2 separate regions of the Homo sapiens genome follow, and region 2 is linked to region 1. The links are contacts of gene promoters, found by promoter capture Hi-C in blood cells and fetal thymus (Javierre and others, 2016). All regions are on one chromosome and are shown on one strand. Each heading gives the region's core, a stretch centred on a gene start or on the middle of the fragment in contact. The rest is flanking DNA. Distances are from core to core; before and after follow the strand shown. Region 1 holds the start of RPL23A (ribosomal protein L23a). Region 2 has its middle 3.4 kb from the start of EIF1.

Evidence for each region. Contacts are between HindIII fragments. The CHiCAGO score rates a contact against its expected background, and 5 or more counts as called.
Region 2: a contact is called between a fragment that was not itself captured here and the fragment with the promoter of RPL23A in region 1, in 1 of 17 cell types (fetal thymus). The highest score is 7.3, in fetal thymus.

What each region holds. Positions count from the first base shown.
Region 1 is chr17:28,718,681-28,722,443 of GRCh38, reverse strand. It overlaps RPL23A (ribosomal protein L23a), which reads right to left and starts at 2,459. Exons shown (of 5, transcript NM_000984.6): 1 at 2,414-2,459; 2 at 1,554-1,737. The coding sequence starts at 2,438. It overlaps SNORD42B (small nucleolar RNA, C/D box 42B), which reads right to left and starts at 1,894; the gene lies at 1,828-1,894. RefSeq lists enhancers at 1,745-1,904, 2,245-2,464, 2,895-2,944, 2,601-3,202, 3,203-3,763. The HindIII fragment of the contact is 1,784 bases long and covers 851-2,634 here.
Region 2 is chr17:41,683,652-41,687,414 of GRCh38, reverse strand. No RefSeq gene overlaps it. Among named protein-coding and RNA genes, the nearest start is that of EIF1, 3.4 kb to the left of the region's middle. The HindIII fragment of the contact is 6,365 bases long and covers 1-3,763 here.

The DNA.
Region 1 (3,763 bases), core at 1,210-3,709:
GCACTTTGGGAGGCTGAGGCAGGCTGATCACGAGGTCAAGAGATCGTGACCATCCTGGCCAACATGGTGAAACTCCCTCTCAACTAAAAATACAAAAATTAGCTGGTCATGGTGGTGCACGCCTGTAGTCCGAGCTACTCAAGAGGCTGAGGCAGGAGAATCGGGCCAGGGGCAAATTCCTTTTTTTTTTTTTTTTTTGAGACAGAGTCTCGCTTCGCCCAGGCTGGAGTGCAGTGACAGGATCTCGGCTCGCTGCAAGCTCCGCCTCCTGGGTTCACACCATTCTCCTGCTTCAGCCTGGGACTCAGTAGTGGGACTAGCGGCGCCTGCCACCACGCCCGGCTAATTTTTTTTGTATTTTTAGTAGAGACGGGGTTTCACCGTGTTAGCCACGATGGTCTCAATCTCCTGACCTCGTGATCCGCCCGCCTCAGCCTCCCAAAGTGCTGGGATTACAGGCTCGAGCCACCGCGCCCGGCCAGCCACGAGCAAATTCTTATGCATAGGTGAGGTTAAGCCACAGCAGTGGCTTAAGCACAACTGTAACACAGCTTTCCCCATTTAAAGTCACACTTGATTCTAGGTCCAGCTTGGTGGCGGGAGGGGCAGGAAGACAGTCTGTGAACTGCTTTCCTATATGAACACAATCCACTTTTTCTGTTAAGAAAGAGTAGAAGCAGCAAAAACCCATTGGTACTAACTACTACCATGGCTCTACTCAAATCTGTGCTCCCTAAAAAGTCAGTTATTACCGATAGCTCAAATACTCAAGTGCCCAACCTTCTGCCCATTCCCCCCCAACTGTTCCTTGAGCAGTATGAAAATTCGGGAAAATGAATGGAAAGAAGCTTCTATACACCGCAGCAGGCCATAACTGCCAAATACAGATAATGGAATCCCCACTATCAATCAAGAATCAATCCACGTTCTCACCCTCAAGGATTGTTCCCGATAGCAGTAGGAGCTATGAGCAAGGAATCTCTGTATTCTACTTTATACTCCCCCCAAAATAAGTTTTCAAACCGTGACCACATGTGAAGCAATAATTAACCTAACAAATTTTGAGAGACTCAGGGTTTTTTTTTTTTTGAGACAGAGTTTCACTCTTATTGCCCAGGCTGGAATGCAATGGTACGATCTCCGCTCACCGCAACCTCCACCTCCCGGGTTCAAGCGATTCTCCTGCCTCAGCCTCCCGCGAGTAGCTGGGATTACAGACATGCGCCACCATGCCCGGCGAATTTTCTATTTTTAATAGACGCGGGGTTTCTCCATGTCACTCAGGCTGGTCTCGAACCCCTGACCTCAAGTGATCCGCCCCCCCTCGGCCTCCCAAAGTGCTGGGATTACAGACGTGAGCCACCGCGCCCGGCCTCTGGGCTGATCCTGCCAGTTTTGTAAATGCAGCAGAAACAATCTCCTCATACTTCCAATTAGAGAAGCACACTGGACACAATTTGCGTTTGAGAAACCATCACGCAGAGTGAGTGAATTTCCAAATTACCAATGGAGAATACCCAAATCTTTTCATGGGTACAGGGGGCAGTACTGACTTGTTTCTCCTGGGAGCGCTCTTCCGAGGATATTTGGGCTGTCTCCGGAGTCGCAGTGTCTTCGGCCGCCGGAAGGTGGGTGACGTGCGGATCTTCTTCTTTTTGTGGCTGTGGACACCTTTCAACACTGCCTTCTTGGCCTTTAAAGCCTTCGCTTTGGCTTCAGCTTTAGGAGGGGCAGGAGCTGGGAGAAAAGGAAAGAAAACGTGGGTGCGGGATTTAGAAATCGGTCACTTCCGGCCCCAAGAACTGCAGTGGGCCACCCTGGCCACAGGTGCATCAGTGGTTCCTTTGAAGACATCACAAGTGTCAGGAGATTAAAACTTTTCCATCATATGCACGATACCAGAGGCGAAAGCGACCAACTCTAAGTAACTCCAGGGATACGACTATGAAACAAAGTAGCACTGAATGAACGCTTGATACTTTCCAGAAAATGTCCTACGAATTTTACACATACCCCATCGCAAAACCACGCTGCGGAGAGAGGGGCGGGTAATGTAGCCCGGTTGAACATGAACCAGAAGGAAAATGGTTAAAGCTGAGGGCACTAATTCCTTACAGGCCCGGGGACATGGAGCTCCAACCAGTGGATGCATGTAGCTTCCCAGAACCGAATGTCTGGCCCTCCCTGGCGGATGATGCCTGCCGCGTTGCCCCCCCCCAACTCCCTCTACCGGAACTCAGCCCACGAGGCTGGGCCCACGCGGCCCACGTATACTGCAGCGTGTCCGAAACGCAGGGAGCAGCCCCGGAGCAGAGCCCTCAGGGCTTAGCCCAGCAGCCGTGTTCCCAATTCGTTCGCTCTGCGGCGCGGCAATCCCCGGTAAACCAGCTGCGGCCCCATCACCAACACACACCTTCCTTCTTCGCTTTCGGCGCCATCTTGTGAAAAGGGTCTCCAATGCTCGTTCCCACGGGCTTATAGCGCCAAAGAGCACTAAAGACTCGCGATGCTTTGTACTTAGAGCTGATTGGGTAATTTGCAGAGCGGCGCCCTCTGGGAACGGTAGTTAGGTTTAATTTCTTTTTCGTGCGTGAACAAACATGCGCCACTCCTCCCCTCAAAGGCACTAAAGCTTCATGGGGGTTGTAGTTTTTTGTTTTTTGTTTTTTGTTTTTTTTTTGAGCGCTCTGTCGCCCAGGCTGGAGTGCAGTGGCGCGATCTCGGCTCACTGTAAGCTCCGCCTCCCGGGTTTACGCCATTCTCCTGCCTCAGCCACCAGAGTAGCTGGGACTACAGGCGCGTGCCACCATGGGGATTGTAGTTTTTTGAAGACACGCGTTTATTTGCTCAGGCCAGCGGACGGCGTAGCCGGCTGGCGCTCGGGTCTGGTCCCGGGAGCTTCCTATCTTGAGCAACTGCCAGTCTCAGGGAAGAGGATTGCCATGCCAGGAGGCAGGAACGCTGCCAAGAGGAAAGAACACATTTGGATTGACTCGGGAGTTAGATACAGCTAAGTTCTAGAGTGCTGGAGCAGGATTTGCTCGGTCGAACTGAGGTCCAGAGAGGAATGTGGTTTATCAATAACACAGTGATTTGGTGGCAGAAAAAAATCAAGTCAGGGCCGGGCGCGGTGACTCACGCCTGTAATCCCAGCACTTTGTGAGGCCGAGGTGGACGAATTGCTTCGAGCCCAGGAGTTCGAGACCACCCTGGGCAACACGGCGAAACCCTGTCTCTACAAAAGAATACAAAAATTAGCCGGGCGTGGTGGTGCGTGCCTGTAGTCCCAGTTCCTTGGGAGGCTGAGGTGGGAGGATCGCTTCAGCCCTGGAGGTCGAGGCTGCAATGAGCCATTCCAGCCTGGGTGGCAGAGTGAGACCCTGTCTCAAAATAAATAAATAAATAAATAAATAAATAATCGAGTCACGAGGGGGAAGTGTCAGAGGAAGTACAAGGCGGCCACACCTGCCCCTCTTTACCTGCGACACTGATACTGTCAAGTTTTACTGCGTTTCCTGATAATGCATTTGAAGTTCTATGAAAATTCCACACATTTCTCCAAGATTCGCTAGTTTTTCCGGTTAGTAACTTCACTCACAATCCCCTGCCCTAAACTAGTCTTCCCTTCCGTGTCCTGGTCATCTTTACATCCTCAAATTCAGCTCCAGACACAGAGAAAGGTTTCTTAACACTCAGGTTCGCTTCTCCTAAGGTGTGTGCCTAACCCATCCCCACTTGATCCTTTCTTCTTCCCTCTCCCTTC
Region 2 (3,763 bases), core at 684-3,183, about 13 Mb before region 1:
CTTGTGGAGTTGAAGGCCAGCGGGAGAGAGAGCCACTAAACAAATAATAAGATAATGAGGCTGGGCGCTGTGGCTTATGCCTGTAATCCCAGCACTTTGGGAGGCTGAGGTGGGCGGATCACCCGAGGTCAGGAGTTCGAGACCAGCCTGGCCAATATGGTGAAACCCTGTCTCTACTAAAAATACAAAAATTAGCTGGGCGTGGTGGCGTGTGCCTGTAGTCCCAGCTACTCGGGAGGCCGAGGCACAATAATTATTTGAACCCGGGAAGAGGAGACTGCAGTGAGCCAAGATGGCGCCATTGCACTCCAGCCTGGGCGACAGAGCAAGACTATGTCTCAAAAAAAAAAAAAAAAGGATAATGACAGATTGTGAGAGGTGCCAAAAAGGAGGTAAACAGGGTGATGTGAAAGGGCCAGGCTCCTTCAGATGGGGTGGTCAGAGAAGGCCTCTGGGGAGGCAGCATTCTGGCTGACAGAGGGTAGGAAGGAGTCCACTGTGGGGCAGGGCATGTGCCCACCAGAAAACTCAGAAAAACTCTGAGGGAGGAAATGCTAGGTGTACCTGATATATATATGTGTATGTGTGTGTATATATATATATATGTATATGAGTGTGTGTATATATGTGTGTGTGTGTATTTGTGTATATATGTATATATATATGTATGTGTATATATATATATATATAGACAAGGTCTCACTCTGTCACCCAGACTGGCTGGAATGCAGTGGCATGATCATGGCTTACTGCAGCCTCAACTGCTTAAAGCAGTCCCCCTGCCTTGGCCTCCTAAAGTGCTGGGATTACAGGCAGGAGCCAGTGTGCCTGGCCTGATACTTTGTTTTGATTCTATATTTACTAAATAAACTTGATTAATAGTTTGGTTTCCTTGACATCAGGAAGGAGGAACCATGGCTAGGTCATGGGCATCCCAGTCTCATGGTCTTCCCCTTTTGAGAAGCTAAGGCCCCAGTCAGCCAACTTGGGAACCTTTACTATCAGGCAAAATTCACCCCCGACATTTCACGTAGGTTCTTCTCTATTTTCCTTAAGTGTTGGCTGGTCCGAGAAATAAAGGGACAGAGTACAAAAGAGAGAAATTTTAAAGCTGGGTGTCCGGGGGAGACATCACATGTCGGCAGGTTCCATGATGTCCCCCAAGCCGCAAAACCAGCGAGTTTTTATTAGTGATTTTCAAAAGGGGAGGGAGTGTACGAATAGGGTGTGGGTCACAGAGATCATGTGCTTCACAAGGTAATAAGATATCACAAGGCAAATGGAGGCAGGGCAAGACCACAGGACCACAGGACCGGGGCGAAATTAAAATTGCTAATGAAGTTTCAGACACACATTGTCATTGATGATATCTTATCAGGAGACAGGGTTTGAGAACAGACAACCGGTCTGACCAAAATTTATTAGGCGGGAATTTCCTCGTCCTAATAAGCCTGGGAGCGCTACAGGAGACCGGGGCTTATTTCATCCCTCAGCGATGACCGTAAAAGACAGCTGTCCCCAAAGTGGCCATTTCAGAGGCCTCCCTCAGGGACGCATCCTCTTTCTCAGGGATGTTCCTTGCTGAGAAAAAGAATTCAGCGATATTTCTCCCATTTGCTTTTGAAAGAAGAGAAATATGGCTCTGTTCTGCCCGGCTCACGGGCAGTCAGAGTTTAAAGTTATCTCCTTTGTTCCCTGAACATTGCTGTTATCCTGTTCTTTTTTCAAGGTGCCCAGATTTCATATTGTTCAAACACACAAGCTCTACAAACAATTTGTGCAGTTAATGCAATCATCACGGTCCTGAGGCTACATACATCCTCCTCAGCTTATGATGACAGGATTAAGAGATTAAAGTAAAGACAGGCATAGGAAATCCCAAGGGTATTGATTGGGGAAGTGATAAGTGTCCATGAAATCTTCACAATTTATGTTCAGAGATTGCAGTAAAGACAGGCGTAAGAAATTATAAAAGTATTAATTTGGGGAACTAATAAATATCCATTAAATCTTCACAATTTATGTTCTTCTGCCATGGCTTCAGCGGGTCCCTCTGTTGGGAGTCCCTGACATCCCACAACACTTTGCCCTGACGGACATTGTTCTGCTGGAAAGGGTTTTGGGAGAGAGTTTGAATGAATGAATTGGAGCTGTCCTTCCCAGTGTGCATGCAATATTTTGTCACACTAAAATATTTTTTGAGACAGAATCTCGCTTTGTCGTCCAGGCTGTAGTGAAGTGGTGCGATCTTGGCTCACCACAGCTTTCACCTCCTGAGTTCAAGCTATGCTTCTGCCTCAGCCTCCCAAGTAACTGAGATTACGGGCAGGTGCCACCATGCCCAGCTAATTTTTGTATTTTGGGTAGAGAAGGGGTTTTACAACATTGCCCAGGCTGGTCTTGAACTCCTGACCTCAAATGATCCGCCCGCCTTGGCCTCCCAAAGTGCTGGGATTACAGGTGTGAGCCACAACACCCGGCCAAGACTCAGTTCTTTTTTTTTTTTTTTTTTTGAGACAGGGTCTGGCTTTGTCACTTAGGCTGGAGTGCAATGGTGCCATTATAGCTTATTGCAGACTTGAACTCCTAGGCTCAAGTGATCCGTTTCAGCCTCCTGAGTAGCTGGGACTACAGGCATGTGCTACCATAGCCAGCTAATTTTTTAAATTTTTGGTAGAGATGAGGTCTCACTATGTTGCCCAGGCTGGTCTTGAACTGCTAGGCTCAAGTAATCCTTTACCTCGGCCTCCCAAAGTGCTGGGATTACAAGCATGAGCCACCGCACCAGGCCTGAGACTCAGTTCTTGACTTGCCACCAGCTTTGTGGGTGACCTGGTTTACCTCTTGGCTTCAGTTGTATGCCCCATAAAAGGAGCACTGGGTGATCTCTTCCTGGGTCTGAAGTCTGAAGCGCTGTTTTCCCAAGTTGGGAGCATTTCCAGAAGGGTCTTCCGAAGTCTACCTTCCAGTGTGGGAGGTTACCCCAGCCCCAGGAGCCTGAGGAGTAATCATGGAGGCAGGAGTAATTAGTTTGAAAGTGGCATGCATGCCTGCTGTTAATGCTGGCTTCTTTATTAGTGTGCTCCTGGCTTTGAGATGCTGTCACCTGGGCAGCCAAGGGCAGGGTACAAAGCACAGGCTCTGGAGTGTCTGTATCTGAATATCATCTCCATCTTGTTGCCTGGGCGACTTAGCCCCTCCCAGCCTGCATTTTCTCCTCTGTACGACAGAGACAATAATGCCCTTCTCATAGGCTGTTGAGGGGATTTAAAGAGGAGACTATGTACAGCCGGATAAAAATGTAAAGTTATGAAACCACTATATAGATTATACCAGTTTCCCAGAGGGGAAGGGAGAGAGAGAGCCTCCGAGAGCAGCAGGGGACAGGAGTGAGCCCCTCTGAATGAGGATGGGACAGAGGTGGGCACCTCTCCATGGTGATCTCCTTGGGATGTGACAAGGGCATGGCTGTGTAGGACACCTTGGGACCCTCGACCTCAATAAGATTCTCCAAGGCCACCAACGTGGCACGGAAGCAGCAGAATCTCCCTCCAGGAAGGGATTGCACCCTCTGGGAAAATAGACATCTCCATGGTAACCAAGGCAGATAGATGATCTGGTCTAGGGGCTCCTTGTAGCTCTGGTGCTCTAGAAAACCTTGTGAGCGAGAGAGAATCCTGGGGAGGGCTGGAGCCCCTGTCATTTCCAAGGCTGGATTTCTGAGCAGCCCAGTGGGATGTTAATTGGCAAGGATCTCACTTGA